2 separate regions of the Homo sapiens genome follow, and region 1 is linked to region 2. The links are contacts of gene promoters, found by promoter capture Hi-C in blood cells and fetal thymus (Javierre and others, 2016). All regions are on one chromosome and are shown on one strand. Each heading gives the region's core, a stretch centred on a gene start or on the middle of the fragment in contact. The rest is flanking DNA. Distances are from core to core; before and after follow the strand shown.

What was found. Contacts are between HindIII fragments. The CHiCAGO score rates a contact against its expected background, and 5 or more counts as called.
Region 1: a fragment that was not itself captured here is called in contact with the fragment with the promoter of BEAN1 in region 2 in 12 of 17 cell types (naive CD4 T cells, total B cells, activated CD4 T cells and 9 more); the score reaches 8.4 in naive CD4 T cells.

Annotation. Positions count from the first base shown.
Region 1 is chr16:66,460,147-66,464,061 of GRCh38, forward strand. The region is part of intron 2 of BEAN1 (brain expressed associated with NEDD4 1); the gene reads left to right. It also overlaps the pseudogene LOC107984807. Among named protein-coding and RNA genes, the nearest start is that of BEAN1-AS1, 14 kb to the right of the region's middle. The HindIII fragment of the contact is 1,135 bases long and covers 992-2,126 here.
Region 2 is chr16:66,426,045-66,430,188 of GRCh38, forward strand. BEAN1 (brain expressed associated with NEDD4 1) reads left to right here and starts at 1,251. Exons shown (of 5, transcript NM_001178020.3): 1 at 1,251-1,387. RefSeq lists an enhancer at 2,079-2,679. The HindIII fragment of the contact is 13,321 bases long and covers 1-4,144 here.

The DNA of each region.
Region 1 (3,915 bases), core at 309-2,808, 34 kb after region 2:
CCTCCTGGTGTTCTCAGTCCCTGTGGAACCAGAGCGCTGGAGAGTGCCAGTTCAGGAATTGCAAAGAGCATTCCAGGCTCACCACTTTAACCAGCTCTGTGCTCAGCTTCCCTCTCTGTAAGATGGAGGAAAGACACTCTCCACCTCTCAGGGCTGCTGTGAAGATTAAATGAGAGAAGCATGCATGAAAAGAGTTTAGAGCCTGATGGATGTACAGTAAGTGCTGTCAGTGAGAGCTATCTTATCTTTATCATTGTTCTTCCTCAGTAAAATCACCCAAGGGTCCCTACCTGCAATCTAGAACATCTCTAGGACATACCCAGAGATAGAACAGATACAGAACAGGAGGTCCTCGCACATCCCTGGATGATTTGCTTCTCCCCAGGCACCTGCCTGCTGTGGCCCATCTCTTTCTGAGACACACAGGCTCCCATCTCTGGAATCCTGGTATCTTATGGCAATGTTCAGCTGTTGATACACCTTCATCCTGAATAGCCCCAGGTCATGGCTGGCTCTGGCTATATATCAAGTGGCTCAGAAGAAGCAAAACATCATTTTGGGGAGAAGAGCATTCTCCCTTCACAAGAGTTAAGAAACCAGAACTCCCAGTGCATGGTGCCTGGTAGCCACAGAATAGCATATTGGCTAAGAGCACAGGGCTTCAGTTTTTCACTGACCCAGGTCTCTATCTGTGGGGCTGTGTGACCTTGGGAAAGTTACTTAACCTCTCTGAGGCTGTTTCCTTACCTGTTAACTGGGGAATCCCATTATAGACCATCATGAGGATTAAATGAGATAATGTGGTGCATGACAAGTACCACGTATGGTGTAAGGCATACAATACAGTAGGTGCTCAGGAGATGGTAATTACTCATGCTGGCATTGGGGGGGAGGTGGTATCTCAGAGAAGAGCCTATTTTTTTGAGGTTTCCACTGGATCATGAGCACCTTTATAGAAACTGCTTGGGAAGAAAGTCCAGGAAGGAGGCAAAGCTTGTTTCATCTTCTATCCTTGCTGCAGCTGGTACAGGGGGACAGGGAGACCGGGGGTGGGAAGGGGGATTGTCATCATGTTATTTCTCTGCAGTCATATTTATCTTTTTGATAAAATAGGCCCTTGTTTTGGAAATTGGAAGAATTTCCCTCATAATTTAAAGCAGCGCCTACCTCTGCCGGTTGTGGTGACTGGGAGATTAATTTCCTAGCTGTCCAAGCAGGCGGATGCCTGCACCAGCTGGCTCCATCTTGCAGGCATGGGTGATGCCATCTCCCGCCCATCTGGTAATGAGCCTGGTGCTGCTAGACAAGGGCAAGGCTCTCATCTGCTGCTGACGCAGGTGAAGGGAGAGGCATCTTCAAGGTGACCCCATGGGGCTGGTCCCAGAGGCAGGTTCTGCGTGCTGTGCAGGGCAGGCAGGCGCAGACACACACACACACACACACACACACACACACACACACACACACAAACGCACGCACATCCAACTCTAGGTTTGCAATCTAAGCACCTGCAACCCTGCCATGGCCAGGGGTCATGGGGGATCATGGGGTGACCAGTGTGTCCCAACCCACATCTGGGGTCAGAAGACATTCCAGAGCCCCATCGGGGACAAGACTCTTGGAGCCAGCCCACTATTCTACAGAGTGTGAACCCCTCACACTACCCTCCCTAAGGAGGGCTGGTGTCCCTAACACTCCCAAGTCCTGCCCTGGGCTCTGAAGGTGAGAGGACGCATGACAGAGAGCAATCAGAGTGGCCATTGGCTCAGGAGTGGTAGCAGGGAGAACCGGGATCATGCTAGATGAGTGGTAGCCAAAAGCTCCATTTCATAACCAGCTCTAGCCAGTTGTAGTCACAGCATGGAGTGCTGTGTTGAGAAGGATGCTGAGTCTGCCTTCTGAACTGAACTGGAAAGAGAACCATGGTCAATTAGTAATGTCTGCCATTGGCATAGACTTAGAAAGTGGTGGCAGGTATGCTATAGATTCACCAGACAAGGACTAGATTTCTCCTAAGTTGAGGTCAAACAAGCCAAATTAAACTGACTCCATTTGCCTACAAGAAAAAGATGGAGGAGAGCCTCACCTTGCCACCTTTTCTCTGTGAGTCTTGAAGAAAAATTACAAGCTTTAGTTTACAGTAGCCAAGGGAATAAAAATTAGAGGTTGGCACTTCATCCAAAACTCAAGCTGTCACAATCAGTCAAAAAATAGAGAAGAAACTGAATTCTAGACTAATGAAGAGACAGACACAGAGCCAACTAAGTTTTCTGCAGTTCACTCAGTCACCCAACAAATATTTAATGAGCACCTATTATGTGCCCAGCACCTGGCTGGGCGCTGCAGATTCATGCAATAAAAGAGTCAGGACAAGGCCAGGGGCAGTGGCTCACACCTGTAATCCCAGCACTTTGGGAGGCCGAGGCGGGTGGATCACCTGAGGTCAGGAGTTCGAGACCAGCCTGGCCAGCATGGTGAAGCCCTGTCTCTGCTAAAAATACAAAATTAGCTGGGCATGGTGGTACATGCCTATAATCCCAGCTACTTGGGAGGCTGAGGCGGGAGAATTGCTTGAACCCAGGAGGCAGATGTTGCGGTGAGCTGAGATCGCGCCATTGCACTCCAGCCTAGGCAACAAAAGCAAAACTGTCTCAAAAAAAAAAAAGTCAGGACAGATGGGATATCTGCCTTCAAAGATCTAACAATCAAATGAGGTGGACAGGGAATCCAAAGACATCACAATTTAATAAACAAGTAAACAAATAAATAAGCAGGATGTTTAGGGATTGTGATGACTGCTGTTCAAAGAAAACACATGGCATGATATATAGTGGGGTAGAGGTCAGTCAGGAGCAACCTGTCTGAGGAGCTGACTTTTAAGGAAAGCTCTAAAGGATGAGAAAGAGGCAGCTGTGCACCATGTACTTTGCGGGACTACCATGAGTAATACTCATGAATATTCATGTACACATTTTTGTGTGGACTTATGTTTCCATTTTTCTTGGGTATATGCCTAGGAGTGCAAGTGCTGGATCATGTGATAATTATGTTTAACCATTTGAGAACTGCCAGTCTGTGTTCACAAAGCAGCTGTACCATTCTACATTCCCACCAGCAGTTTATAAGGGTTTCCATTTCTCCACATCCTCACCAACACTTGGCATTATCTGTCTTTTTGATTATAGCCATCCTACTGGGTGTGAAATGGTATCTCATTGTGGCTTTGATTTGCATTTCTCTGATGGTTAATGATGTTGGGCAACTTTTCATGTGCTTACTGGCCAATTGTATCTTCTTTGGAGAAATGTCTGTTCAGATCTTTTGACAATTTTTTTAATTGGGTTGTCTTTTTATTATTGAGTTGTAAGAGCTCTTTACATATTCTAGGTAAAAGTCCCTTATGAGATAAGTGATACACAAATATCTTCTCCGATTCTACCGACTGTCTCTTCACTTTCTTGAAGGTGTCCTTTGCTGCACTAGTTTTTAATTTTGATGTTTATCTATTTTTCTTTTGCTTCTTGTGCTTCTGGTGTCGTATCTAAGAATCATTTGCCAAATCCAAAATCATGACAACTTACCCCTATGTTTTTATCTAAGAGTTTTATAGTTTTAGGTCATACATTTAGGTCTTTAATCCATTTTCAGTTAATTTTTGTATATTATGTAGGGAATCCAACTTCATTCTTTTGAATGTAAGCATTCAGTTGTCCTAACACCATTTGTTGAAAAGACTATTCTTTCTTCCATTTAATTGTCTTGGCACCCTTGCTGAAAATCCACTGACCATAAATATGAGGGTCTGTTTCTCAACTCTCAATTCTAGTCCATTTATTTATATGTCTATCTCCATGCTAGTACCACACTATCTTGATCATAGTAGCTCTGTAGTAAGTTTAGAAATCAGGAAATGCG
Region 2 (4,144 bases), core at 1-2,500:
TTTTGAAACGAACCCAGCTTTTGACTCCCCTTGCCTCCTAAGCCCCAGTTTCCTCATCAACAGTAGTGGTTCAGAGAGTGTTAGCAACAACACATTTCATCAATTCCTGCAGCAAATTCACTGAGTGCCCACTCTGTGCAGACCCCTGCAGCCCTACCCAGACGCTGCCCTCCTGGCGCTCCCAGGCAAGTGGCGGAGGTTAAATAAATAACTCCTCCACGCTGGCGAGCACCCCAACACAGTAGGGGTGCAATCATTGGGAGCAATATCCTAATGAGGACAGGGAGGCCTGAGAGATGGGCTGGGATTCGTCCAAGGCCCCAAAGCAGGGTGGGGACAGAGCAGGTCCTGGAAGCCTGGAACCCCGGCCTGAGCCAGGCATCCCCTCGGGGCCGGCTTCCACCTGCCAGGGCTGAGCCCTATGCCCTGACGTTTGGGCAGCGGGGAACGGGGGCACAGGGAGGGTGACGGGGTGAAGGAAACAGGCCTGCTGGTGGCTCCGAAGGAAGGTTTGGGCCAGGCCTAGCTGGAATCCCAAAACTCACCTGCCAGCAACCGCGAGCGGGAAGCCCTGCCAGGCTCGCCTGCCCCTGCCAGCGGCCCAGCCACGCTGGGTCCCCCTCTCCATCCCGCACTTTGCTCTTTGCCCGCGACAGGGGTCCCCTGCTCAAATGCCCAGCCTAGCCTCGGTCCAACCTGTCTGGCTGTCCTTCCCTGACACCTCGTTTGTCTACCCTTCTCTGCACGTGTCAGTGGCTCCCCGCTCGCGTCCGTGTGTCATTCCCTACACACGCCTGTGTGTCCTCTTCACACGTCTGACTGGAGCGTCGGCCTCCCGCATTTCCCGGCCTCCTCGCCGCCCTGCCCCGCCTGCTGCTGTGTGGGTGTCGGGCTGGCTGTGCGCAAAGGGGCGCGGCTCGGCCCTCCCCCGCACCCGCGCCCCCCGCCCCGCATCTCGGAGTGACCCGGGCCGCGGCGCCGCGGTGCTGAGGCCCGGGAGCCGCGCCGCCGCCGAGGGGGGCCGGGGCCGGTGACGGTGGCGTGGGCGGCGGCGCGGGGACGACGGGCGGCCGGGCGGGGCTGCGGCAGGGCAGGGCCAGGGCCAGGGCCGGGGCCTGGGAAGCCGCCGCCGCCGCTGCCTCGGCCCGGGATCGCGGGCGGCTGGTCGGCCCGGCTCGCCTGGCCCCGCCTGGCCCGCCCCGCCCCGCCCCTGCGCGCCCAGCAGGCCGAAGCGTAGCGGCGCGCCCCCCGCGACGCCCGAGCCCGAGCGCAGTGGCCTCCGAGCGGGAACCGGACTGGGAGCCGGAGCCGGGGCGGGAACCGGAGCTGGAGCCGAAGCTGGAGCCGGCACTGCGGCGCACGGAGCGGAGCGCTGCAGCCAAGCCGAGTAAGGGGCGTGGGGCTGGGCGGCGCGGGGGAGGGGCGGGCGGGGGGTCCCGGCCCCATTCCCCCGCGCTCTGCGGTGGTACCGGCGAACGACACACCCGGGGGCGCGCCGCGCGGAGCCTCGGTGCGCGGGGCGGGCGGATGCGCGGTCCGGAACGGAACCGCAGCGCGCTCGGAACGGAGCGGGATCCCGGGTCTCCCGCGGACCCTCGACCCCGGGCTGGCCACTGGGATCTGCGCGAGCCGAGGCTGACCCTGATCGCGCCCTCGGGCCTCGGGGAAGGGGAGGTATCCAGGTTTTCTGCCTGACTCGAGTCCCCGACGAGCATCAACCGCATTTGGGGAACCCAAGACAGCCTCCCCAGCAGCTTGCCCTCGGTTTCGGGGACCCCTGAACAACCCAACCAAGAAGGGAAAACTAGGGCGCACTCTCGGTCGGGGTGGGAGAGGAAAGGGGCTGGGGCTTCACGGAGTTTGGAGTTTGAACCCACCCGCACCCCTTTGAGCTAGGAAGTTTGACCCTTCGACGAGCAGGTCGCCTGGGGTATGCCCCTGTCTCCGTGCCTCTGTCTCAGCACCGAGCGTCGGAGAGAGAGCGCGCCCTCCGCACCTTCTCCCACTTTGGGACAGACTTTCCCTTGCGCTGTCAGAGGGACCCGAGGCTGAGTACGAGGCGAGGCGGCAGGCAGCTCAGGCTGGCTGCGCAGCGCTGAGTGGCACCGCCGCCGCTCCCCAGGGGCAGGGCCCACCCCACACCCGGCTGACTCTCGCTGCCCTTCCTCCTTCCCTATCGGGCTCTGCGGTCTGGAGGCTGGAGAGCGGTGAGGACCAGGGACTGCCCTGTCCATCTCGGGCGGGTGCCGGCGTGGGTGGCGGGGCGCAGGCTGGGAAAGGGAGGGCGCAAGTAACTGGTGTGAGAGGCAGGGGTTCAGGGATCCTTGCTCTTGAGCCACGATTTCCGATGAGCCCCTGCCGAGAGCATGCCGCTCTGGACTCACTCCTCAAACATAACTGCTCTGCTGGAACGAGAGACTTCACCACCCTGTGCCTCAGTTTCCTCATCTGAAAGTAAGCAGGAGTCTGTTGTGAGCGGGATGTTTAAGGGATTTGGAACCAGAAGGTGGGCTTGGCTGACTTCCTGGCTGTACAACCTTAAGCAAGACACAAACCTCTCTGAGCCTTAGTTTCCCCATCTGGAACATGGGGAAGGTGAGTTGGGAGGATTAAATGAGATGATGCTGGTGAGGGTATGTAGCCTGGTGCCTGGCACGCAGCCAGTGGCCAATTGTGGTGGGCTACAGGTGTCCTGAGGTGTCCAGCACCAGTAGATGCTGAGATTCAGTGCCTCTGAATCTGAAGTGGTGCTCCCAGCCCCCTCCAAGGAGGCCTTTGAATTCCCCAAGCTGTTGACATTTAATTGCAAAGCAAAACTTTCTCCTTAGGGCCCACCCTTTCTCAGACGCTCCCTCCTCCAAGGCTCTCTACCGCCCAGCCCAGTTCTCCCCTGCTACCTCCCATCTCTCTCCAGGGTGAAAAGGCTGCATCTGACTGTAAGGTGCACCCTTTTCCTCCTTGCCCTTAGCTGATGTCCGCTGCCCCAGAGAGGGGCACCCACCCATTGCTCGAGCTCCGTACAAGGGAATTTAACACCTCCCTCCACTCCCGGGTGGAGGATTGCTTTCCCTGAGGAGCCATCAGGCTGTCAGGTGGCTTGGACACACCGATGGTGACGGTTCAGACAGGCAGCAAGAAGCACCAGGGAGACAGCCTAGAGGTCTGAGGGGTCCCAGCCTTGATTCTTCGCAGACTATGATGTATTCGTCCAGGCAACTGGGCCATGAGGCACCAGAAATGAAGGATGTCGGGGAGGAAATGGAGCCAGTGATTGAGAGGTTCAAACTTCAGAGCAGGGTGTCCCCAGGAAGGGATTTGCTCCAGTCTGTGTGGCTGGGACCTTAGACCCAGAGCAGAGCAGGGCATAGGCCCAGGGGATAGGGGAGGATGCTGGGATCCTGGAGGTGGCAAGGAGCGGGTGGGCGGGCAGGAGTGATGGGAAGAAAGCAGTGGTCCAGTTCACACCCATGTTGGTCCCTGGCCACCTGTGCTGTGTGGGTGTTCTGGCCCAGCTGCCCAGAACAGGGATGGGGGAGGAATCTCAGATGAGGAAACATGTCCACATGGTGCCAGGGTACACCTGGTAAGACAGGCAAGATGAGCTGCCACCTGGGGCCTCCTACACGGAATCTCCCTCTCTCCTCTTCTTCCTCTGTAGCTTCCCCCTCCCCTTCCCCATTCACCCACTAGGGGTCACGTCGCTGTGTCTTCCAAAATCCTCACTCCTCATCTTCCCAAAGGAGTTAATCAGGAACTAATTAGGCTTGAGTCTCCTGCTTCGCTCAGGATTTGGAACACAGCCAGTGGGGAATGTGACGGGGATGCAGGCATTACTGTCAGGCTTTAGGAATAATCAGCCGGACACCCTCAGAGGACCATTGTCTGAAACTCTTGCCCTGGAAGTACTCAGAGGATAGGGTGAGGGGCATCTGCTGTCAGCCTCCTAAAGGGAGAAACTGAGGCCAGGAGGGCTTCTGCAGTCCATTAGCAAGCAGGCACAAACAAGAGTCACGGCTGAGAGCAGTTTTTTGGAGCTGGACCGCCTGGGTTTATAGCATGTGGTTCTGGGAAGGTGACTTATTTTTCAAAGCCTCAGTTCCCTCTTGAAAATGGGAATAAATGTTACACACCTCCCAGAATAGTG